Linked DNA regions of Homo sapiens: regions 1, 2, 3, 5, 6 and 7 are each linked to region 4. The links are contacts of gene promoters, found by promoter capture Hi-C in blood cells and fetal thymus (Javierre and others, 2016). All regions are on one chromosome and are shown on one strand. Each heading gives the region's core, a stretch centred on a gene start or on the middle of the fragment in contact. The rest is flanking DNA. Distances are from core to core; before and after follow the strand shown. Region 1 overlaps LOC105369460 (a long non-coding RNA gene). Region 2 has its middle 67 kb from the start of BIRC3. Region 3 overlaps YAP1 (Yes1 associated transcriptional regulator). Region 4 holds the start of MMP20 (matrix metallopeptidase 20). Region 5 overlaps YAP1 (Yes1 associated transcriptional regulator). Region 6 overlaps YAP1 (Yes1 associated transcriptional regulator). Region 7 overlaps YAP1 (Yes1 associated transcriptional regulator).

Region 1 (3,783 bases), core at 435-2,934, 360 kb after region 4:
AGTCCAGTCACTTGAGCAAGGTGTATAGAGGAGGTAGGACAAAATTGTCGCTAAGTCGGGCAACGCCCTCTGCAGCAGCCGAGCGGCGCTGCCTCCTGATTGCCGGGGATGACTGGGGCTGCCGGAGCTCTCTGGGCAGAGATCCAAGCTCCGGGCCCAAGTACAGGCAGGTGTTCGTGCAGAGGCCCCACCCACCCTGGCTGGAGCCCCGCCCCACCCGCATGCCCCGCCTACTCAGCGCTGCCCCGGTGGAGAAAGCAGCGCGGCCGCAGGGCGTGCAGGATTGACAGGGCATGCCCTGGCATTCCGGAAATGCCGTGGAAAACAGCGAAACTTCAGCTCCAGGTGGCCTAGAGGCGTGGCAAACGAGAATGTGGGGGAGGTGTTCACTGCAGAAGGGTGGTCCCAAATCTGGGACCCACCGTTCCCTCCAGCCCCGCAGAAGTCAGTCAGGCCGTGGTGCTGGAAGCTTCTCAGACTTGCCTGTCATTAAAGTCCGAGGGTGGTTATAAACTCCAACTGTCACGGCAAGTTGTGTTTTTGGAGACTCTTCCAACTCCGCCAGGCTGTAAACAATGACTTTGCCTTAGAAGTTGCAGTTGAATAGGAAGAGCTTGGAAGAGCGCTTTGAGTTGAATTGCCAAGTCGGAGCTTTTGAAGCTTCTCCGAAGTTTGCTCGAATTGCAGCCCGAACTACATCTTTTCCACAAGGGCTGGACATATTTCAGGAATCTAGTATTTCCTTGGGGAATGTTTTCCTCCCCCTGCGCTGGAAGCTGCTCTCCATGTTTTCCCCCCCTTTCATTCCCATGGGTTGAAACTGACCCGCCCTGTGTGGAGGAAGTCCTCTGTAGGACTCTGGAGATCCGACCAGGACATCCACCTGGGCATTTTGGACCCCAACGCCTTGCTTCTGTATCTGATCTGCATTTGCCTTTCTGGACACCCTCTTCTGTGCTCCAAGACACCCTATACTTTTCTACCTTGACAGGGAACTTGACATTTTTAAACTTACCTATTTATTTGTCCGTCTCCCCTATTAGATTATGAATTCCTTAGGTCAGAGACATTCTTTCCTTATGTCAGTACCTGACACATTGAACCGTGGTTGTGGAGAGAATAAGTTCCCTCAGCCGTTATGAAGGGAAACCTCCCCAGCTTGTAAACTGTCTCCTTGACTTATGGAGGACTGTTCCAGAATGAGTCAGAGGGGAAGATCCACCCAGATAAGTCGGAGGCATTGGAAACAAGCCGGTAAAACTTTCTTCATTTGATCTTTTATACATTGGAGCTACTCACACAGATAGATTTTTGAAGCAAATAACTGCATTTTGCATCTACCATCCCTTTTCCCCCCACATTTAACCCACACTATGTAGATAAAATTTACTTGGGGAATTCTTGAACAGTTAAATTGTTTATATTCAATTAAGAGATTTTTATCTTTATTAATCCCCTCCTCCTCCACATATTTTCAGGCAAAATAATTATTGAGTAGTATAGGGACTTTGGGATCGTTATAATAATCAAAGAGGCCTGAGTATTCATTCAAAAAATGAAAATGAGATTTTTCATTTTTTGAAGGAAGGAATTCGTGCTTAACTCTGATGTTCATTTAGTTACTGATGATTTTTAAATTTTAACTTGTATATTCAAGTGAGTATTGTCTTTTCTTGTTATATGTTTATTTAACAATGCCATCATTTCTCAAAGCATTTTATTTTACTTACTTTAAGCCATAAGAAAAGCAAGGTGGGCATTGCTTGAGCCCAGGAGTTTGAGACCAGCCTGGGCAACAAAGTGAGATCCCCCGTCTCTCTCTCTCTCTCTTTTTTTTCTTAAATAAGAAGTTAAAAAAGGAAAAAAAAAAAAAAGAAACAAAAGCAAAGCATACTTGTGGTAGGACGCAGTGGCTCACACCCGTAATCCCAGCATTTTGGGAGGGCAAGGTGGAAGGATCCCTTGAGCCCAGGAGTTCGAGACCAGTCTGGGCAACACAGGGAGCCCCTATCTGTTTTTTTTTTTTTTTGAGACAGAGTCTTGCTCTGTCGCTCAGGCTGGAGTACAGTGGCGCGATCTCGGCTTACTGTAAGCTCTGCCTTCCGGGTTGACGCCATTCTCCTGCCTCAGCCTCCCCAGTAGCTGGGACTACAGGCGTCCGCCACCACGCCCGGCTAACTTTTTGTATTTTTTACTAGAGATGGGGTTTCACCGTGTTAGCCAGGATGGTCTCGATCTCCTGACCTCGTGATCCGCCCGCCTCGGCCTCCCAAAGTGCTGGGATTACAGGCATAAGCTACTGCACCCGGCAGAGCCCCTATCTCTAAAAAATAAAATAAAATAAGATATATGTTTTTTGAAGCAGACCTGTATCTTTATAGTAATACCTCATATACCCCAGAATTCTGAAGATAAGACCATCAGGCCAAGTACAGACTTAGGGCCACGCTCCCCCTCCATGTTTTTTAGAGCCCCACAACCCCTTCATGTTTTTTAAATTCACAATTAGTGTTCTTTCAACATGAATAGACTAAAATATCTCAGTTTTCTGAAACAAAAAGGAACATGATTTATTGACCTTATTTAACCAAAGGAAACATATGGTGTCATTTAACACTAACTCTAGATTTGGATCAAATTTTTAGAATGAGCAATGCCTCTGATTTAACTAAGCATCTCCTGCAGGAAAGGAGTCATGCAAAGCTTCATCTGCTCAACTGAGAACAGAACAGGCCAAAGTTTAACTTTATATTCCCTGGGATTCTTCAGGCTATTAAAATATTTGGCTAAATGATTGAATACGCTTTACAAAAGTCACAATATTTTCATATACAACATTTGGAAATGAGCTAATTGCTTTTCATGTGCTTCTCAAATGACAGACAGTACAGCCCCCTCAGAGATTCCCATAGCAATGGCCTATAGACTTTGCAAAATCATAGACTAACAGGGATGCAGTTTTTTTGGAGAATCAATTTTGCTGAATGGTGATTAGCCTAAAATATTTTATATTAAAAACCAAACAGAATGCAACATGTATATGAATTTTTAAGATCAAACAGCAAATTCTAAAGAAATTTTTGTTTGCAGTGCCAGCATCATCTCTCCAACAGCCCTCTCACCCTCAGGATATATATTCCCTTTCGTTTTTTCAGGATTGTTTGGTGGAAGTTTAAGATACTCTCTAACCTAATATGTTGACATTAGTCAGCGTTCACTGACCTTGAGGAAAACTAGCTAACATTGACTTGTGTAATGTATGGTCTTTATCATTCTGGTTCTTCCCTCCACCCGCCATCTGTCTCCCAGGTAGGCTAACTCTAAAACAGGCACAACTAAGGCTTACTTACATTCCCTTTTTTTTTTTTTTTTCCTGAGACAGAGTCTCACTCTGTCACCCAGGCTGGAGTGCAGTGGCACCCTCTTAGCTCACTGCAACTTCCGCCTCCCAGGTTCAAGCGATTCTCGTGCCTCAGCCTCCCGAGAGTAGCAGGGACTACAGGTGCACACCACCACACCCGGCTAATTTTTGTATTTTCGGTAGAGACGGGGTTTCGCCATGTTGGCCAAGCTGGTCTTGAACTCCTTAAGTGATTTGCCCACCTTGGCCTCTCAAAGTGCTAGGATTACAGGCATGAGCCACTGTGTCCAGCCTACATTCCCTTTTAAAGGTTGCCTTTCTTCCTAGGCTGCACTTCAGGACCGCAAGAAGAGTGCTAAACCCTTATGAACTTTTTCTTTCTTTTAAAAAAAATTTGTCTAGAGATACCCAAGTATTGTTCA
Region 2 (3,646 bases), core at 101-2,600, 370 kb after region 4:
TCCTCCCAAAGGAGGACGAGGGATTACAGGTGTGAGCCACTGCACCCAGCCAATACATCAATTTTTTACTTAGGATTATGAAAAGTACAACAAAGAGGAGTACAAGGGGCTTTGAGAGCACGTGCCAGGGGTCTAGTTTATACCAGAGGCTCAGCGAAGTTTTCCCTAAAGAAATGATATTTGAGCTAAGACCTGAAGGATGAGTGGGGAATTGGGAGAACTGTCCTCCAGGCAGAGGGAACAGAATGAGGAAAGGCTGTGAGATAGAAAAGAGTTTGCAGGTTTCAGGAACAGAGAAGCCAGCATGGCTGGAGAAGAGGAAGTGAAGGGGAGAACTGGAAAGGACAAGATTTTACAAGGCCCTGCAATCATATAGGGTTTGGGACTAAATCTTAAAAGTAATGAGAAGCCACTCAAGTGTATAAGATAGGAAAGTAATATGATTAGATCTGTGATCTAAAGATCTCACCAAGTCTATTGAACTTACCATATCCCTGAATCTGTTTCTCCTCCTGTCTCCCTTATGTGGCACCACCATCCATTAGAAATCCAGCATCATCCTAGATGACTTCATCTCCCTTAGTTTCCACTTCCAATCAATTACAAGTTTGTGAATACCTGCTAATTATTTCTAGATTCAAGCCCTTTCACCATCTCTACTACCATGGACCCACTTAGGTCCTTATTATCACTCTCTTGGCCTATGCAACAGCCTCTTAACTAATCTTCCAGACTTGTCCTTCCTTCAAGCCATCCTCCACATTGTAACCTGTGTGCCTTTGCCTATCTCCAGCCACTGCTGCTTCCAGCCTCTTGCTGGACAGCCCAGAAAAAAAACCATACTGTTTCACTGTACTCAGTCTTTGCTTATATTTCCCTTTTTTTTTTTTTTTTTTTTTTTTTTGAGACAGGGTCTCAGTCTGCCGCCCAGGCTGGAATATGCAGTGGCGTGATCATGGCTCACAGCAGCCTCGACCTCCCTGGCTCAAGTGATCCTCTCACCTCAGCTTCCTGAATAGCTGGGACCACAAGCATGTGATACAATGCTTGGCTAATTTTTGCACTTTTTGGTAGAGACAGGGTTTCACCATGTTGCCCAGGCTGGTCTCAATTTCCTAAGCTCAAGCAATCCTCCCACCTCAGCCTCCCAAAGTGCTGGGATTACAGGTGTGAGCCACTGCACCTGGCCTTATATTTCCCTTCTGCCTAGAATCCCCTTACAATTTTTCTTTCAGTGGCTATCTCTTACTCATCCTTTAAAACTCAACACAGGTGGCTGGGAGGGGTGGCTCACACCTGTAATCTCAGCACTTTGGGAGGCCAAGGCAGGCAGATCATGAGGTCAGGAGATCGAGACCATCCTGGCTAACACGTTGAAACCTCATCTCTAATAAAAATACAAAAAATTTGCTGGGCTTGGTGGCGGGCGCCTGTAGTCCCAGCTAATAGGGAGGCAGAGGCAGGAGAATGGCCTGAACCCGGGAGGTGGAGCTTGCAGTGAGCTGAGATTGCGCCACTGCACTCCAGCCTGGGCGACAGAGTGAGACTCCATCTCGAAAAACAAAACAAAACAAAAACAACAAAAACAAAAAAACCCAACACAGGTGTTAGCGCATCCCTCAGTGGTTTTGGGTCCCTCCTGAATGGTTAACAATTGGAAGTTCTGATAAGCCCCAAACACAGGTCTGTCATGCTTCTGAAGCTAGAGAATATCCACAGGCCAAGAGAATATAAATGGAAGTCTGGGTAGGCCAAGGGGGTATTGACAATGCACCAACAGTACAGTTTCCACCAGAAGTGACATACATCACTTCTGCTCACATTCTGCAGGCCAAAGCAAGTCACATGGCTTCCAGAAAGGCAGAGAAGTCACACCCACCATGTGCTAAAAAAGCAAAGAGCTGAAAATTTTCAAAATAAAATATTGAAAATATTTTATGCTTAGCACTAATGATCACCACCAAGCAATGTCAAAATTAATAAATGATAGGAAGGAAAATATTGGACCAAAACCAATTTTCATCCATACAGTTATTTATCTACTAGCCAGTTTGGGGGCACTTTCTATGTGTCTTGCAGTGTATTAGGCTTATAATATTCAGCTTATATGTTAACCAAGAAGACCAGAATGATTGACTAAATATTGAAATATTATTGTATCAATTGGTAAAAAGTATAACTTCAGTAAGTTATAAAATGAAATAATAATATAAATTCTAATGTAAGCCATTTGTTTAAGCTAATTATTTAGAAAATTGCAATAATAAATCAGTGAGCTCCTGTCCTTGAAACCCCTGAAGAACTCAAGCACTTTACTTTGGAGTTCAGCCTGTGTCAAGGTGGGCACCATGGCACATCCTCTACAAGGTTCTCTGGGTGCTGGTGGGCTCACCAGTTTATAACTATCCTCAAGTGGCACGGTTGTTGTTATTTCTTTTTTTGTTTGTTTGAGATGGAGTCTTGCTCTGTCACCCAGCTCAGAGTGCAGTGGTGCGATCTCAGCTCACTACAACCTCCCCCTCCAGGTTCAAGTGATTATCTTGCCTCAGCCTCCCAAGTAGCTGGGATTACAGGCACCCACCACCACACCCAGCTAATTTTTGTATTTTTAGTAGAGACGGGGTTTCACCATCTTGGCCAGGCTGGTCTGGAACTCCTGACCTTGTGATCCACCCGCCTTGGCCTCCCAAAGTGCTAGGATTACAGGCGTGAGCCACCGCACCCGGCTTCTTTTATTTTTTATTTTTTTTATTTTTATTTTTTTGAGACAGGGTCTTACTCTCTCACCTAGACTGGAGTGCAGTGACGTGATCTCGGCTCACCGCAACCTCCGCCTCCCAGGCTCAAGTGATTCTTCTGCTTTAGCCTCCCAAGTAGCTGGGATTACAGGTGCGTACCACTACTGCCCAGCTAATTTTTGTATTTTTAACACAGACGAGGTTTCACCATGTTGGCCAGACTGGTCTTGAACTCCTGACCTCAAGTGATCCAGCTGCCTTGGCCTCCCAAAGTGCTGGAATTACAGGTGTGAGCCATGCGTCCAGCCTGCTATTTCTTAATAGTGTAGGTTTTGTTCTGGTTTTATTAAGTTGTAATTCTGGTATAAGTAATAAGTATGTTGATAATTAGGATTTTGAGGATTTATAATAAAATGTTAAAAACAAACAGTATGAAGAGAAATGACAAAATGTGGATAAGTTTTTTTATGTTTATTTTAAATGTCATACACACGAATCTTCTGAATCTGTGTAAGAACAAAACAGAAATGATACTAAAATGAATTATACCTTGAGCTGGCTCTTCAAAGAGGGAGGCAACCTTGGGACCACTAAGAGGCTCCAGAGGTGGCAGAGGGGTACCTGCACAACAGCAGGCTGTGATTCCCATAGATCTCGGGGCAATCGTTGTGGCAATGTAGGAGGCAAGAGAAAGGCAGATGTGGGGGCTGGGTGCGGTGGCTCACACCTGTAATCCCTGCACTTTGGGAGGCTGAGGTGGGAGGATCACTTGAGCCCAGGAATTCAAGACCAGCCTGGGCAAGATGATGAGACCTCATCTCTATAAAAAAAATTTTTAAATGAGCCAGATGCAGTGGTATGCACCCACGCTCCCAGCTACTTGGGAGGCTGAGGTGGGAGGAGCGATT
Region 3 (3,638 bases), core at 508-3,007, 390 kb after region 4:
ATTAAACAAAACCCCCAGTCTACCGATCACTTCTGCAGTAGTCACCTAGGTTTCCTTTCACTAGTAGTTACTGATCTCTCTCCCCCTCCCCCTCCCTCTGGAAGACTGTTTTCTTGCTTATTGCAGCTGAGCAATTCACTTACTGAGCTGTTGAACTTTAATTTGGGGTCTAAGAAAAACATTATGTAAATCATGTTTTAAGTATGACTACTATACTTCTCAAGTATTTGGAATGTTCCTCCTTGTTCTCGTTAGAGGCTATTCCCAAATCTAAATACATTTTTCTGAGTATTCTGTTAAACTCAGAGTTAACTAAAGATGGTACAATTCTGGTTCAGAGATCCAGAATGAAGGCAGATTCACATTACTGGGCTTCACACCATCTGACAAAAAGTGTACCACCGTGGAGCAACAAGCACAGTGTCTACAGACACAAGGTATGGTTTTGAGCCAAGATGTACCACCACTATATCTGAACTACAAAAAGGAAATAATCAATTTCAAGCTACACGAAATTAGTGTTCTAACATAAAGAAATTATATATTGTAAAATATGAAGCATTTTCAGATTTGCCTCACCAAAATAGATGTGTCAATAATTGAAGCTATTATACACGCAAACACAGAAATCAATCTTTTTTTTTTTTTTTTCTGAGATGGAGTCTCGCTCTGTCACGCAGGCTGGAGTGTAGTGGCGTGGTCTTGGCTTACCGCAGCCTCTGCCTTACGGGTTCAAGTGATCCTCCCACCTCAGCCTCTCAAGTAGCTGGGATTGCAAGCATGCACCACCATGCCCAGCTAATTTTTGTATTTTTAGTACAGATGGGGTTTCACCATGTTGACTAGGCTGCTGTCGAACTCCTGACCTCGGGTGATCTGTCCGCCTCAGCCTCCGCCCACAATGCTGAAATTACAGGCGTGAGCCACCACGTCCAGCCATCTTTAAAGATACTCAAATCTACTTCTTATTCAAAGGTCAGGACCTACCACTTCAATTTGTGAATGTTTTTATTTATAAGCCAGTAAGTAATGCTTTTTACTAATATATAATATTCTCTCATGACCTCCAAAATAGAACAGAATATATATATATTCTCAGCCTCCCGAGTAGCTGGGATTACAGGCATGCGACACCACGCCCAGCTAATTTTGTATTTTTAGTAGAGACGGGGTTTCTCCATGTTGGTCAGGCTGGTCTTGAACTCCCAACCTCAGGTAATCCGCCTGCCTTGGCTTCCCAAAGTGCTGGGATTACAGGCGTGAGCCACCACGCCTGGCCTGAGAGAATATATTAAAGAAGTAAAACCAAAGGCCATTCTGAAAGACAGTGCCATGTTCTTATGTTCTCAGTGTCCTCTGTGCCGTCACATGTAGTGAAGTCATTTAAGAATCAAGCAGACGCAGTTCTGCTTAGACACTACCACGGATGAGGATGGTGTATGTGAAGAGTAAGAACACAAAGTTAAAAGAATTATATATCCATACTTCAAAAGTTCCAAATGTCAAGCCTAACTTAAAGCACAACGAAACTTAAGTTTAACTTGTCTTCCCAGTTACTACTGTAATCACCTTTTATTGCCAGTTCTTGTTCTATTGGAAGACCAGTAAGAAGCCAAAAAAAAAAAAAGTTTCAAATATCAATTGTTAAAAACAACAAAGAAGAGTTTAAGGAAAGAATATATTTGAACCACATAAACAAACAAAAAGGTATTACATAAGAAAAAATAATGTAACAATTTATGTAAGTACCTAACATATGAGCATGCTCTTACATCTAAAACAAAAAATAAAAAGGTAACATTGGTACTATATATATATATTTGACAAGTGTGCATTAAAGAATTCTCTAATATAAAACATTTAAAATGTGGAGAATACTTTTTCAAGATACAGAAAACAATTGTTATGATAGGCACACCCACAATTCTTATAACAACATGCTTGCGAGGATAAAATCCACCTGAGCACTCATTTCTCAGATGTACCAACGCTAGAAAAGTGTTAAGCACTGAATATTGCCACCCACTTTTGCAATGTTTGAGTTTCAACACTGATTGGTATGAATTCTGAATTACACAATTAATTACTGTTATTTTTCAGTCTTTCTGCCATGTTCCATATAGAAGGCATGTATTTAATATGAATACTTAACACAGCAACATTATTTGTAGCAAAGTCACTTCCCTGTGTTCATTTTTCCTTTAAAGGCACTACATTTAGAAAAGTTATTACAACAAATAGTGCTTTGGAAGATCTGAAACTCCAAATCAATGTGCTCCATCAACCATAAGTAGATCTAAGAAGCCCTGACTGAAAATAACACAAATGTAAAAAGTTGATAAATTTAAAGATTATAAAATTGGTTTATTGTAAAAGCAATTCAAGAATACCCAGTTAAAATCTTATCCCAATGCTACCCAATACAACCAAGAAGCAGTTAAGCACTTTTACATTAGGAACAAGGACATAAAACAAGAGACCACATCAAGGCTATGATTCAAACTCAAAAAGGGAAAGGACTCTTAGGTCTCCTTCAGGTCAGTACAGAGGGCATCGTAAGATCAAAGCACTGTGCCAGGTATCACAGTACTGCTACAACACTGAGGTATAACTGGGCAAATTAAAGTTGAGGGGTAAAGGAAGATCTCCATATTCATATTGTTTTGTGGGTGTACTTAGGTGACTGAAACTCTAGAACAGCTGCCTTTAATGGCAGCACGGTGTAAGACAAGTCTTTATTAAAGAGAAAGAAGTTTATAAAGTTCTCTATCAAGGTCCCCCTAAATCTTCACAACCCCCCCCCCAAACTTTCCCACCCTCCCCCTAAGCTAAAGCTAATCTGCTGATATATAAGATATAATCTTAATCTGTGGCTACTGGCAAATTATAGGCACTCCTTCCAAGTAGCTTTGATCTTCTGCACATTAAAAAAAATCCCAACAACATGCTATGTAATTCATATACCCAATTTTGCATTCTAGGTAGAATTTCATTACTACTCTAAAACTCCATCTGCAGTGGCCATTTCCCCCCAGACTTAATTCAAGATTTAATCTTTCTGCTGTTTTCTTAATAAAAGCCTTAGAGTCAATTATTATGAGTGATCAACCTATGAACTATTATATACAACACAGTGATTGCATTTTTTTGAGCACTGAAAGTACTTAAAATAAAACTTCTTACTTCCAACTTTTGCCCTCCTCCAAATTGAAGGGCCAAAATACTTAGATTTTGTAATTGGGGGGAAAAAAATCTATCTTCCCAAGCTGAGGCTTTTCATAGCAGCTTTTGCCAGGAGAAGAGATTTTATGCCTGTTATGAACCCTTGAAAATAAGGGCTTATTCTAGAAACATTGAAAGACCCTTAAAACACAGAGGTGCTAGCTGGTGCCACTTTAATTCACAACCAACTATTACTTCATAGCTTATATTGAAGAGTTAATTCATGCTCGTTTTGTTCCTTTAAAAAATACTCTTTGGAAACCATTATTACTCCTGTAGACACATACTCTAGTTACATCATCTCTTCCTGTAAAAATAAAGGTATAATCATGATTATCTCTATTTCTTTGCTAAATTCAACTACCAATATACATTTATTAATCTGATCACTTTTCCAGCTAACTCAAAACCTTATA
Region 4 (3,330 bases), core at 538-3,037:
TAAATGCAAATTTTGAAAAATTATTGCAATATCCTATTCCTTTCCTGAAACCAAAAAGCAATGATTAGTATATGTTTGTACATTCATTCATTCTTTTTTTTTAACAAACTTGATTAAGTAACATTTTTTAGAATACAGTCTTCAAACAGCTTACAATTTAGTTGAATGAATCTAATCTGTGGTTTTCTTTTTTCTTCTTCTGAGACACATGTTTTGTCTATCTCACAGTACATGCCAGAAATTCTGTTTGCCTGTGTGTATTAGTCCATTCTCACACTGCTATAAAGGAATACCCGAGACTGGGTAATTTATAAAGGAAAGAGGCTTAGTTGACTCACAGTTTTACATGGCTGGGGAGGCCTCAGGAAACTTAGAATCATGGTGCAAGGCAAAGGGGAAGCAGGCACCTTCTTGACAAGGCAGCAGGAGAGAGAAGATCAATGGAGGAACTTTCAAACACCTATAAAACCATCATATCTTGTGAGAACTCACTCATTGTCATGAGAACAGCATGACGGAACCACCCCCATGATCCAATCCCCTCCCTCCCTCAACACATGGGGATTACAATTCGAGATGAGATTTGGTTAGGGACACAGAGCCAAACCATATTAATGTGTGACAAACTCTTGTTCAGTGCCTGGGGTTGTACACTAGATACCAAACATTGGCTGTAACTCCACCATCTTCTCTTCCATGCAAAGAAAGCATATCAAAATGCAACAGAGTGAGAAAGACTATAGGAATTCACTGTATTCACTATAGGAATAACCTTGAATTTAGTCTAAAATCAAAATTAGGATTTGAATCCACATCTAGTGGATGCCAAGTGGTGCTTGCAGATGTCATGCTATATGTGTTACTCCATAACACTGAAAAGTTTATACATAGTAGTAGTATTGTCAGTCTTTTGTAGATTAAAAAAAACTTGATATTCAGAGATTAAATGACATACCCAACATCACACAGCTAGGAAATATCTTTTTAAATATTTAGTCTTGCTTTGTCTGACTCTAAGTGCTTTTCCCACCATATGACACCATTTCACCGTATCATCTCTGGATCCAAATCCATCTTAATCAGACCCAGGAAAAACAATATGACTCCAATTAACCAGAGTACACAGAGATTGGGGAGTTCTGGCTATTGTTTTGGTTAACGAAGACGTAACTCTTGCCTTAATTCATCCAAAAGCTTTCTAACAGTTACCAGTTCACTTTCCACCCTAAGTCAGCACAGTATAATGTAATCTTGCCTTGATGATTCAGGATCTTATGTGTCTCAGAGCCATCATTATGAACAGCAGTTGCTACTAAGAAATTTTGAAGTGAATGCAGGAGATACAGGCGATTGGGTTGAATGCATGGGGAGTTTGGGATTACTTGGAGGACAAATTCAATTATACTGTAATCATCTAACTTTTCTGTAATCAGAATGGAAAAAGGCCCCCAAATGAAGACTAATCAAATGTTTCAGTTGAGTTGGGTTCAAATCAATCAAGTTTACTTCAATTTTTGTAACTAGCTGACCAACTTCATTAAAAGTGACTGTTTTTCTCCTTTTGCCACTTGGTAAATAACAAAAAAAATATGAAGCTTTCCCTGATTCCTGTGTACAGTTGTGTTACCCCATCATCAGGGAGAGAAATGAGCTGTATAATTACTGTTTGAGACATGAATCATCCTTGCTCGGAGGGTCCAGACCTGTTTGACTCTATAAAAGGAGCTCAAGGTCGAAGTGCAAACGTGCACTGTCTGCCATCCCCCAGGCTGATATAATTACCAAGCTACTGTGAGGGGATGAAGGTGCTCCCTGCATCTGGCCTTGCTGTCTTCCTCATCATGGCTTTGAAGTTTTCCACTGCAGCCCCCTCCCTAGTTGCAGCCTCCCCCAGGACCTGGAGGAACAACTACCGCCTCGCACAGGTTTGTGAATTTTTGCCCAATTCCTTCTTGCTCCTCTGCCCTAGAAAACCTAAAAGGGCATAGTGAGAAAATAAGAAAAAAATTCTATTGTTCTTTTAAAATCATTTTATATAAGTCCATTGAAGTCTAACTGATGCTATCTTCTGTCCACCTAGATTGGTGTCTGGTGCATATTAGGTGTACCATGTTACATGACTGAATAAATACATGAGGATATATCTACCTAGCTATCTTGCTTCATAAAGAATTCCAGGTGGCTTGTGAAAACCATGCAATATAAAAGGAGCAAACAAGTACTTCCCGGGAATGATGTAGGAGGAAAAATAGAAGCAGAAAAATAAAAACCGAGGCATAATCCACACGCTAGAGGCAGGTTGTGAATTTAGTGCTAAGCTTTAGCGGTCACAACAAGGAGATTTCCTGTGTTTCCACTTTTTAAATGGCTCTTATATTCAAGGTAACCCTGATCAAAATTTAAAGTGGACTAAGTTCTTCCTGGGTGCCAACCCACTTCTCATTTGAAGGCCTTTTCTCCCTAAAGCATATTCCCCAATGAAGTAAAAGTTTATGTACAAAGTACATAACAAAGTTTATGTAGTAAGTACAAAGTACAACGTTTATGTACTTAAACTTTGTGTATTTTCCTCTTTTGAGATCTCTCCTCTATGACTGCTGGAAAGGGTCTGATAGAAATGATCCATATTCAAATATTTCACAAAGACTGCTTGACTCAAAATGATTTCTACATATATATATATATATATATATATATATATATATATATATATATATGCTTCCAAGCGTGTTTTGTTTTTAAAAGAAGGGTGGCATCCTTAACCTAAAGAAATGGATGTCTACGGATGGAATTTCCAACATTAGTGAAAGATATATAGAGGAAATGCTTTTGCACACAGGCCTCCCTTTCAAGAGTCTGCCAACATTACAGCACATCTGTGATCACCAGCTCCGCCTCAGGGCTGCTTTCCTGACTGCCAGGCTGCACCTGTGTACCGCTTGGCTGTCTGCATCGTAGAGCTGATTTGCACCCATGTGCAATGGCATGTCCCTACCGATTGTTTCTGCCACTCATCCTTATTAACTGGTCAGTTCCCCGGCCATACCAGTCATTAAACACTTAAATATCAGCCCCGCAGATGAACAGCACAGCTGATGCCCAGCACAACCATGTTGAACTGAACTTCTTTTGACTTTAGCCCACTTTTAGATGAACTAAATTCAAAATAACTCAGGATACTGGGATCCTTATTCAATTGTATTTTGTCCATGCCACCTAGCTTTAGGTGCCTTCTTCCCAAATGTAATTTTCCCTACCCTGCCTCATGCCACTGTGATTCTGAAACTAAAGAGGTTTTGTGACCTCCAGAAGGAGAGCCATGCTGAGGCC
Region 5 (3,384 bases), core at 306-2,805, 460 kb after region 4:
GCCTTTATCAGCCATCACTGGGTTTAACAAAGACTTCAGAAGAACTCCCATACTAGAGTAGATACAATAATTACAAGCTAATGCCATTTGCAAGCTGGATATTATAACTGAATTACTTTTTTTATTTCAAAAAGAAAAAATTTAAGTCATCATATTCCATATTGGCATATTTTATTAAAATGAAATGGATTGGCCATAGTTTTAAGTAAGAAAAATGGTGGTTGTTTCCATATTATCATTTTTCAGGAACTTAATCATCAAATAAATCAAGCCACAAGCTATATAAAACAAACCAAGCTTCTTAAGGATTGGCTATATTGATTCCAGATTATTATGCTTTTCCTTATACTATTTTTCCATTTTATAGGGCCATTTCTCTTAATTTACCTGAACTTCTAGATGGGAAAAAGAAAACAGCAATTTTGTTCAAAAAAAATAAGTGTTTTTATTTTAAAAGTTTTTAAAAAAGGTATTTGGAATACAAGCCCGAGAGTAACTAGTCAAATACACTATCTCTTCATTGCTCTGACTTTGGGCTTTGTTATAGTTCACTGCTATTAGGTTTCCCGTTAGTATAGTCTTTTCCCATATATTGTGACTTCAGACTGACAATTTCCATCTTATAATAATCCAGAACTTTTAGAAGAATCAGGAACCAACTACTTGGAAGAGCCAATGACCTCAATTTGATGATAAAAAGCCTACAGAGATAAACATAACTTCAAAGATAGTGTGGTAACAGATTTTTAACAAAGTAACAGTGGCTACCAGGTATTACAAACTGATTAAATTCTAAAATATCAGATCACATTTATTTTATCACATTTATACCAGGCACTGTACACTATTAATAATACATTTTAACTATGTGATATGGATTCTGTCATTTAATGCTCACAACAGCCCTATGAGTTATTATCTCATTTTTCTAAGTGAAGAATACAGGTAGATACAGTAACTTGTCCAAGATTTCATGGACAATAGATGACGCCTGGGATTCAAATCAGGTCCATGGGATTTCCAGAGCCCTTGGTCTTAACCCTTAATGTAAACTGTCTCTCAGTTTCAAAGGTGAAAAGTAAAACTTTAAAGTTTCTGAATTACAGCACATAAAGCAGGAATTACCAACACCTCAACCCTGTTGGTTCTGCAACTTCTCACATCTTTACCCTCTCTGTGCTTTTTAAAGTTAAAACCTAAATCAATGTGTAATTTACCCATCATTTTTATATTTCACATCTATTTTCTAGCTCTCTCATTTTTCTTGGTAACAATCTCTCATTTGATCTTCAGTGCTGAGAGATATTACACAGGCAGGCAGGAGAACACAAGAGGCAAACCTTAAGGCAGCTCTATACTACTCACTTTGCTTGCTTCTGAACATTTTTCCCCACTTCAAGGAAGGTGCTTAGCACATTCCTCTAACACGTATCACCTTTCATGATCAAGAGGGCATTTTCTCCACCCATCTTGAGGTATTTCCTAGGAAATCCTCACAGTTTTTCATAATAGAGAAATCTGAAAGTGCTACATTGGTAGAGTTGGGAACTGTCAAATAAATCCCAACAATTTCTAACTTTAAAGCATATAAATAATGAATTCTCTAAAATGTACCTGTAATAAGACATTTAGGCTTTGGGTTGTTATCAAATGTACATTTCTCAAAAGCAGATAAATGGGTTGATTCTGCTTAATATAAATCAAGACATAACTTTTATTGATCCTAGTCATTTGTCATACAGTTATTTCTGGATTATCACAGAATATACTTTGACTTTACTGTCCCTTGAAGATTCAGCAATCTTGTGGATCAGTGTTAACAAGTACACTATTTAAAAATTTAATATATATCATACACATAGAGCTAAGGAAGTATCACTTTTCACTCCCCAGGGCTTTCTTTTCTAATGCTGAACACAAAAATCATGAAATGTTTACCTAACTCTCAATATGGGGAGAAAAACTACGGATCCTAAGCAGGCATCAAAAGGCTATTATATATAATAACTAATTTATATTATAACTTTTTTTTTGAGACAGGGTCTCACTCTGTTGTCCAGGCTGGAATGCAGTGGTGCAAATATGGCTCACTGCAGCCTTGACCTCGTGGGCTCAAGCTATCCTTCCAATCTCAGTCACCCAAGTTGCTAGCACCACAGGTGTGTGGCCACCATGCCTGGCTAATTTTTATTTTTATTTTTAATACAGATGGGGTCTCCCTATGTTGCCCAGGCTGGTCTTGAACTCCTAGGCTCAAGCAATCCTCCCACCTTGGCTTCTCAAAGTGCTCGGATTATAGGCATGAACGACCACACCCAGCCTTATAAATTATGACTTTTTTTTTGAGATGGAGTCTTGCTCTGTCACCAGGCTGGAGTGCAGTGGCACAATCTCAGCTCATTGCAACCTCCGCCTCCTGGGTTCAAGTGATTCTCCTGCCTCAGCCTCCGGAGTCACTGAGACTACAGGCGTGCACCACCAATGCTCAGCTAATTTTTAAATCTTTAGTGGAGACGGGGTTTCACCATGTTGGCCAGGGTGGTCTCAATCTCTTGACCTCATGATCCACCCACCTTGGCCTCCCAAAGTTCTGGGATTACAGGCATGAGCCACTGCACCCAGCTATAAATTTTAACTTTCAAAGGACATTCACCTCAAGTAATTTAATAGACTAGACTTATTTATACATATATTTATACATTGAATATTTTAATATAAAGTAAAGTACAACCATTATCTTAATACATTATTCCATTTCCTCTTATTTTTCCATTTTCCTCTTCTTCACCTTTCAAATTCTTTCACAAAGCTTGCTGTCATTTACCCTGCCACTTAAATGGCACAGTTAAAGAATATAAATTAATCTTCTTCCAAGGATGTATTGAGTGTTGCCTCTAGAACCTTTTCCAGGTGCATCTTTGTTTTGGGTGATTCTCAGTTATAGATATTTGGAAATTTGCCCAATCACAAACCACTGGTCTCTAGGCTATATGTAGTATCTACCATTTCAACCTCATATTTTGAAAAAGGACTTATAAAAGCATAATTATACTGATCATTTTTGCTAAAGCCAATTAGAAAACAAAATAGAGTTTCATAAAATCTTAAGAATTGGAAAGAATCTTAAAAGATCTTTCATCCTAGTCAACCATGAAAATTATGCAGAAAACAGGTTTGGGGAGTCTAGAGGAAATTACAGTATCTTAAGGAAAGCAGTTGGATGAGGAACAAGATCTCAGAGCAGAACATGAAGCTGGACTCAATTATGAATGATGGGAATTCTTTTTCAAAAAAAAGCAAAGCGAGGAAGTCCTTATTAAATAATGAGTAATAAAAATGTAAATCAAGTTGCATTTAGCATGATTAACCCAGTAGAGTGCTTCA
Region 6 (3,532 bases), core at 223-2,722, 410 kb after region 4:
TCCTCCCACCTCAGCCTCCTGAGTAGCTGGGACTACAGGTGCATGCCACCAAGCCCAGCTAATTTTTCCGTTTTTAGTAGAGATGGACTTTCACCATATTGGCCAGGCAGGTCTCGGACTTCTGACCTCAGGTCATTTGCCTGCCTCGGCCTCTCAAAGTGCTGGGATTACAGGCGTGAGCCACTGTGCCCTGCCTCAAGAATTCTCATAAGGGCACTTGGGAATGAATCTCACCCTAAGCCTTAAAACAGAAATGAAGAATCTTTACTGGTAAGAAAGGGGATAAGCAAGGTTCTCACTATGGGGAAAAGCTTGTGAGCAGAATAACAGCAACAAGGCAGTGGAGTACACTTAGCTAATAATGGAAGAGTTACTGGCTTAACTGGAACCAGTGAGTGAAAAGGCTACTGACCACAGACCATGAGCCAGTTGCAGAGTTTAAACTCGATCTCATAGGTACTAGGGAACCCCAGATATTAAGAACCAAATTCTTTTTCTTTTTTTCAAGACGGAGTTTTGCTCTTTTCGCCAGGCTGGAGTGCAATGCCACGATCTTGGCTCACTGCAACCTCTGCCTCCCAGGTTCAGGCGATTCTCCCTCCTCAGCCTCCTGAGCAGCTGGGATTAAAGGCGCCCGCCCCACCACATCCAGCTAATTTCCGTATTTTTAGTAGAGACGGGTTTCACCATGTTGACCAGGCTGGTCTCAAACTCCTGACTTCAGGTGATCCACCCGCCTTGGCCTCCCAAAGTGCTGGGATTACAAGCGTGAGCCACCGCCCCCAGTCCAAGAACCATATTCTTAAGCACAAGAGAAGGTAGAAGTGTTCGCACCTCAGGGGGGACTATCTTTCCTCAAAGTTCTTCTCTCAAAAGACCTTAAAACAGAAGCTAGAGTGCATTCCTAAACCCACTTGCTCAAAAGGTCTCTCCAATTTACAAGTGAGCACTGATGTGTAACAGAGATATGACTAGAAAATAGCATTAACTGCTCAATCTCACAAAGCAAAGATGTTTACAGTTTCAGAAAGTTTCTTCTGAGAATGGAAATTGCTTTTGAAACATAAAAATCATAAGTAACCAAAATGAAATTAAAATGTTAAGCTCTTTGGCAGGGTGTGGTGGCTCATGCCTGTAATCCCAGAACTTTGGGAGGACGAGGTGGGCAGATCACCTGAGGTTGGGAGTTCAAGACCAGGCTGACCAACATGGAGAAACCCTGTCTCTACCAAAAACACAAAATTAGCCGGGCATGGTGGCGAATGCCTGTAATCCCAGCTACTTGGGAGGCTGAGGCAGAATCATTTGAACCCGGGAGGCAGAGGTTGCGGTGAGCAGAGATCATGCCATTGCACTCCAACCTGGGCGACAAGGGCAAAACTCCGTCTCAAAATAAAAATAAAAATAAAAATAAAAATAAAAATAAAAAGTTAAGCTCTGTAAGGATGAATTTTTCCAAAATCCTGCCAACATAGTATAATAAATTAAGGTGATAATTTCCATATTTAACTAAGAAGATATATAAATGCCTTTAAAGTTTTTTCAAAATTTTACATTTCAATATCACTTGGGCCATGGATCTTGGAATTTTTCATTAACCTCACCCATACTGACGTTAGTGTACACGAGCACAGCACCCTACAACAGCCACATGATATGTTAAATCCTATAGGAAGTACTTAAAGACAGCTTCTGTAGTAATTCATAAGCATTTTGAAGTTTAGTGGCTTTCCACATCCCACAGCATATGAGGTATACGATTAGAAAATGACACTGATCTCACTATTGCTTGCTAACTCAGCTGCATTAATATCTATTACAAAGTATAAGTTAAAAACCCAGTAACTTTACAACAGCGTCTAGTGTTCAGATACTGAGTGATGTCTTTATACCCTCTGTTCTTTGGGGCTGAAAAGTCCTTTCTAGCTTTCTTGATTATTCTGAGAAACACTATTTAAAGCCATCTTCACTTAAGATATGACTCTTCTGGCTGGGCGCGGTGGCTCACGCCTGTAATACCAGTGCTTTGGGAGGCCGAGGCAGGCGAATCATGAGGTCAGGAGGTGGAGACCATCCTGGATAACATGGTGAAACCCCGTCTCTACTAAAAACACAAAAAATTAGCTGGGCGTAGTGGCAGGCACCTGTAATCACAGCCACTCAGGAGGCTGAGGCAGGAGAATTGCTTGAACCTGGGAGGTGGAGGTTGCAGTGAGCTGAGATTGCGCCACTGCACTCCAGCCTGGGTGACAGAGCAAGACTCCATCTCAAAAAAAAAAAGAAGAAAAGACATGACTCTTCTTTGTGATCTATTTCCTGACATCTACCTTAAGGTTATTTAGAAAATAATAGGATGAGAAAAATATACACATGCTTTCTTGATACAAATACCACCAGATTTCTTGATCTATTTCAAATATAACCCTATACTTGAATTTCATACATTTACTGATAACTTTCCACAATTATGCCAGGTAAATATTAAACACTGACAACTAAAGCATATATAACAAACCAATATTTTAATCTCCAGCATATGCAAAGAAGATTTTTAAAAACCTCTTTCAAGTTTTTTGCTCTGGTCTGGGCAAATCTGAGTAATTACCTCTAATCTTCGTATCTTAGAAGCTTTACTACTAATAAGCCTCACCTTTTCTAAAACTTTACTATTTTAAAAAATCTAAGAATTCCTGATAATTTTAATAACAGTAAAGATTTACTTTTCTATTCAAGTATGAAACAAAGATCAAGAAGAATTTGACTTATTTATCAGATTCAGGGTATAAGACCTTGGGAAAAAAGGAAACAATTTCAACATTTTTTTGGCATGGAGGACTTTTTACCTGAATCCAAATCTCCTTTGAGTTAATTTCTGCTCCTATATTAGTTTCTATTTCATTTATCATGAATAAAATTCTTCTTTCAGAAACACTTCAGGCCAGACGTGGTGGCTCACGCCTGTAATCCCAGCAATTTGGGAGGCTGAGGTGGGCGGATCACGAGGTCAGGAGATCGAGACCATCCTGGCTAACACTGTGAAACCCCGTCTCTACTAAAAAATTCAAAAAGAATTAGCTGGGCATGGTGGCGGGCGCCTGTAGTCCCAGCTACTTGGGAGGCTGAGGCAGGAGAATGGTGTGAACCCGGAAGGCGGAGCTTGCAGTGAGCCGAGATCACACCACTGCACTCCAGCCTCGGCAACAGAGCGAAACTCCATCTCAAAAACAAAAACAAAAAACAAAAACAAAAAGACAAAACAAAACAAACACTTCAGAGAAATGGCAAAGAAAAAAATGGCTTCACGTTATAAAGACCCAATGCTATCCTGCACTTCACAGTCAAATGGTATATTAGTGCCCCCTCATCATAAGAATGTCTATGCTCAACTTTGGTGAAGATGGCTTATTATTGAGTTATCCCTTGCTTGGTCTTTTGATTAATGGTGGCATTTATGAGATAGATAAAGAAGAATAGAGATTTTCCCTCTCACAAAATTAACTGGTTTCTATGAAGACTGTATCTGACTTTTATC
Region 7 (3,749 bases), core at 532-3,031, 440 kb after region 4:
ATGTTCCTCCTTAGGATGGGAAACACTACAACACCCAGGCATAAGATGGTACTCATCACTCTCAGAACCTAAGCACAAGCAGACATCAGGTCACTGACAAAAGCTGGTACTCCTGGTCTGAGGTGTTGCATGACAGCCTGATTATTATTGCAGCTAAAAAAAAAAAACATTTTAAAAACAATCACTGTGTTTCTCCCAAAATGTGAAAGGAACAAGTGATTCTGGTTAGTCGGCCATTATGACATTCCCCCACCCCAACCTGAGGAGCCCTAAAAATCTGATTCAGATCTAAATTTCTCAAGTTTACAATGAGAAGGATAAAAACACTACTGGTAAACATTGGGTGGGCAGGGTCATTTTTTAATACTATAAAGCAATGCGATTTTATTTAAATGTGCTTTCCGAAGTATATTTACAAAAAAAATTAGCAACCAAAAGCATCTAAAAAGGTTTTGAGATGAACCTTTACCAAAACGAGGGTCAAGCCTTGGGTCTAGCCAAGAGGTGGTCTTGTTCTTATGGTTTATATAGTAAATTTCTCCATCCTGAGTCATGGCTTGTTCCCATCCATCAGGAAGAGGACCTATAATACAGAAAAAAAAAAAAAAATCATGGTTTTTATTTGGTGCACCTAAAAAAAAGTGGGAGGGGGTACTAATTTAAAAAGAAAACACATCTTAACATAAAACAATTCATTGAAACATATTTAAGGCTGTGTTCAGAGAAGAAAGGTAAACCTATATACCTGCTTCTTCTCCACTAAAAAGAAACCACCAAATAATAAAATGAATATTCCTCAACACAGAGATGAAGAAAAAAAATTTTTTTCCAAAAAATCCTTTTGGAAGTCATGGCCCAAATAATTACTATTACTGTTAACATAAGACACGGAAGAGCTTGCAGCTCAGAAACTACCACCCAATCCAATCAGTTTTGTGACAATACCTTCCTAGGAACACCAAGGTTCATTAATAAGAAATACATGCAAGTATTTTTAGAACGTTGAAAATATCATAAACATTCTATTTAATATAAAGCACATTTTAGCTAAGACAGCCAAGCTCTATTTATTTCCATGTTTTATGTGAGTGGCTCACACCAAGAAAACTGTAAGACAGAAAGCTACAGTCCAAACAAAGCTTATTTTTCAGCAGACCAGAAATTGCTAATGGGTTGGGGTTGCAATTTGAAGTTTAAGCTTGTTGGAGGCTTGGGAGGAGGCAAGATAAGTGCTAAAGTTGTTGGAAGGCAAACTTTAAGGAACATCATTTGAGAGATAGGACTAAAGAATACAGTTAACTCTAAAAGGATTTTCCTATCTTTATAGGAATAGAGAAGTCAAGACAATTGCTCTTGGGAGGTAACAGCAATGAAAAGAGAGGCCCAGAATAAATAACTAAAGTATTCAAACATAATTCTTCCTGATTTCCTTGTCCCTCCCAACTCCCCCAGTTCCCATTTCCAACAGGAATCAAAAGAGGCAGGGCAGGAGATACAAACTGGGATGGTCAGTACATGGCTAAAATCTTTTCTTCTGTGGACTAACATGAATTGAACACTTATCTTGTGCTAGTCATTGTTCTTATATATTATGTACATTAATTCATTTAATTCTTACAGTAAACAAATGACATAAGCAGTAGTACTACTTATTCTAATGAGGAAACTGAGGCACAAAGTGCCAGGTTGATCAGTCTGGTACAAGATCCCAAAGCTAGTTAGTACCAGGAATGGTACTCAAAGCCAGGCAGCGTGATTCCTAACCCACTGACTGCTCTTCACAACTATACTTCTTTTCACTCATCTCCCACAGATGACCAGAGCCTAAGTATCCCTCCTATGCACAAATAGAACAATTCCCTTCTTCCTGTATTGGCAGTCCACACCAGTCTCATGGGTGATGCTGAATAAGTAACTTTGGTTAAACTGACCACTCACACAAGGCCCATGGGACCCAAAGTCCTATTTTTAGGCCAGTTTCATTCGTATTAGGAACAGATCAATTTGCAGCTGCATTTTCAAAGGTCTACTTTGATGGGGTAAAATCCTGTTAGGAAATGCAGACGTGTGGAATTAGTTTTCTCCATGCCTAGAATCCTTAGGAAGGCTCCCCTTCAGTCCTGGATGTGTAGTACACACTACTAACCAAGTCCAGAGGTAGAATTTGTTGTACACATCCCAAGTTTACCAGAGGCTGAATGAGAAGCAAACCTGTTTATCACATGTATATCAAACCTTTTCTCACCAGCTTTCACTGTCATTTTGGGCTCTATTTCCTCCCCAGAAAGACAGAACTCCAAAACTGAATATTAATGGTTTGCTACTATCTTTAACTGTAAAATGGCTGAATTATAAAAAGCTTTTGCAAAACAACTAACTGTATTTAAAATTTTTAGGCACTGAAAATACCATGTGACTATACATGGTGATGAACAAGTCAATAGCAATCACTGAATGCCTTTGGGAGCCTCAACTCAACAACCCCAAGATCTCATTGTAGCTTTCTTTTTTTTTTTTTTTTTTTGAGACGGAGTCTCGCTCTGTCGCCCAGGCTGGAGTGCAGTGGCGGGATCTCGGCTCACTGCAAGCTCCGCCTCCCGGGTTCACGCCATTCTCCTGCCTCCGCCTCCCAAGTAGCTGGGACTACAGGCGCCCGCCACTACGCCCGGCTAATTTTTTTGTATTTTTAGTAGAGACGGGGTTTCACCATTTTAGCCGGGATGGTCTCGATCTCCTGACCTCGTGATCCGCCCGCCTCGGCCTCCCAAAGTGCTGGGATTACAGGCGTGAGCCACCGCGCCCGGCCCTCATTGTAGCTTTCAAGCCTGCTTGAATATATGGGTTTCATATATGTGGTTTAAACACACACACACACACACACACACACACACACACACAGAAACAGCATTATTCCCCACCTTAGCTGTCTGAATGAGAGCCACAAGAGATACCTAGGATACAAACCAACCTTCCCTACCTGCTCCACTCACTTCATTTTGTAAATTCCACTTATATTCTCTCCGATGGGTCTGCCACAGTCCATCTCAGAGAACTCAGCCATCAATACTTACCAGCTCTCTTTTTTGACCACTTCCTCAGTAACTGGCTTGTCATCTCTTCTCACTCCAAGGTCCTCTATCAGTCACCAGGGGTTTCTCTTCTTAAAATATTTTCGATTCATCTTTTAAACATGTCATTCATTCTTACTAAAGAACATTCCTATTGCTCTCCATCAAGAGGAAAATGCCTAAATTCTTTACTAGCTGGATTCATTTCTGAAGTCTTCTTCAGATACCCAGTTTTCCCACCAACTTTCCATAAAATCATGCCATCTCCTTGTATATGCCGTTCCCATTATCACAAATACTCTGCATCCCCTACCTCCTAAACTCTTAGTCATCCTGCAAGAGACAGCTCAGATGTCACTTCTTTAATTCAGCCTTTCCATACTACCTCAGACAGAAATTAGTTTCCTCTTCCATTCTCCATGCACATTTAACAGGTAGAATTGTAATTACTTGATTACATATCTGTTCTCCTGGCAATGATCAAGTCATTCTTCTTTACAAGCTTGTAGGCTAATACCTGAATAGCTGCTCAATAAATGTTTGATGGAAGAATCAATGTCTTGCCTTTTAAGTAATACTTTGAACTTTCTGTAAGCTTAAAATCATGTAGAACCTATATTATTTGCAATTAACATTTATACCAACACATATATACCAAATACAAAATAATACTTTATATTC

Evidence for each region. Contacts are between HindIII fragments. The CHiCAGO score rates a contact against its expected background, and 5 or more counts as called.
Region 1: a fragment that was not itself captured here is called in contact with the fragment with the promoter of MMP20 in region 4 in 15 of 17 cell types (M0 macrophages, naive B cells, naive CD8 T cells and 12 more); the score reaches 13.4 in M0 macrophages.
Region 2: a fragment that was not itself captured here is called in contact with the fragment with the promoter of MMP20 in region 4 in 11 of 17 cell types (activated CD4 T cells, total CD8 T cells, naive CD8 T cells and 8 more); the score reaches 10.4 in activated CD4 T cells.
Region 3: a fragment that was not itself captured here is called in contact with the fragment with the promoter of MMP20 in region 4 in 2 of 17 cell types (non-activated CD4 T cells and naive CD8 T cells); the score reaches 5.5 in non-activated CD4 T cells.
Region 5: a contact is called between a fragment that was not itself captured here and the fragment with the promoter of MMP20 in region 4, in 2 of 17 cell types (non-activated CD4 T cells and M2 macrophages). The highest score is 7.0, in non-activated CD4 T cells.
Region 6: a fragment that was not itself captured here is called in contact with the fragment with the promoter of MMP20 in region 4 in 6 of 17 cell types (non-activated CD4 T cells, total CD8 T cells, total CD4 T cells and 3 more); the score reaches 6.7 in non-activated CD4 T cells.
Region 7: a contact is called between a fragment that was not itself captured here and the fragment with the promoter of MMP20 in region 4, in 5 of 17 cell types (activated CD4 T cells, naive CD4 T cells, naive B cells and 2 more). The highest score is 7.3, in activated CD4 T cells.

The regions. Positions count from the first base shown.
Region 1 is chr11:102,265,187-102,268,969 of GRCh38, reverse strand. All of the region lies in intron 1 of LOC105369460 (a long non-coding RNA gene), which reads right to left. Among named protein-coding and RNA genes, the nearest start is that of BIRC3, 50 kb to the left of the region's middle. RefSeq lists a silencer at 112-221. The HindIII fragment of the contact is 2,043 bases long and covers 663-2,705 here.
Region 2 is chr11:102,248,296-102,251,941 of GRCh38, reverse strand. No RefSeq gene overlaps it. Among named protein-coding and RNA genes, the nearest start is that of BIRC3, 67 kb to the left of the region's middle. The HindIII fragment of the contact is 8,205 bases long and covers 1-3,646 here.
Region 3 is chr11:102,231,445-102,235,082 of GRCh38, reverse strand. It overlaps YAP1 (Yes1 associated transcriptional regulator), which reads right to left. Exons shown (of 9, transcript NM_001130145.3): 9 at 1,659-3,638. Among named protein-coding and RNA genes, the nearest start is that of BIRC3, 84 kb to the left of the region's middle. The HindIII fragment of the contact is 4,148 bases long and covers 1-3,638 here.
Region 4 is chr11:102,623,789-102,627,118 of GRCh38, reverse strand. MMP20 (matrix metallopeptidase 20) reads left to right here and starts at 1,787. Exons shown (of 10, transcript NM_004771.4): 1 at 1,787-1,925. The coding sequence starts at 1,800. The HindIII fragment of the contact is 723 bases long and covers 1,598-2,320 here.
Region 5 is chr11:102,166,693-102,170,076 of GRCh38, reverse strand. All of the region lies in intron 3 of YAP1 (Yes1 associated transcriptional regulator), which reads right to left. Among named protein-coding and RNA genes, the nearest start is that of YAP1-DT, 58 kb to the right of the region's middle. The HindIII fragment of the contact is 2,512 bases long and covers 300-2,811 here.
Region 6 is chr11:102,210,459-102,213,990 of GRCh38, reverse strand. The region is part of intron 6 of YAP1 (Yes1 associated transcriptional regulator); the gene reads right to left. Among named protein-coding and RNA genes, the nearest start is that of YAP1-DT, 100 kb to the right of the region's middle. The HindIII fragment of the contact is 2,317 bases long and covers 314-2,630 here.
Region 7 is chr11:102,182,852-102,186,600 of GRCh38, reverse strand. It overlaps YAP1 (Yes1 associated transcriptional regulator), which reads right to left. Exons shown (of 9, transcript NM_001130145.3): 4 at 470-583. Among named protein-coding and RNA genes, the nearest start is that of YAP1-DT, 74 kb to the right of the region's middle. The HindIII fragment of the contact is 1,161 bases long and covers 1,201-2,361 here.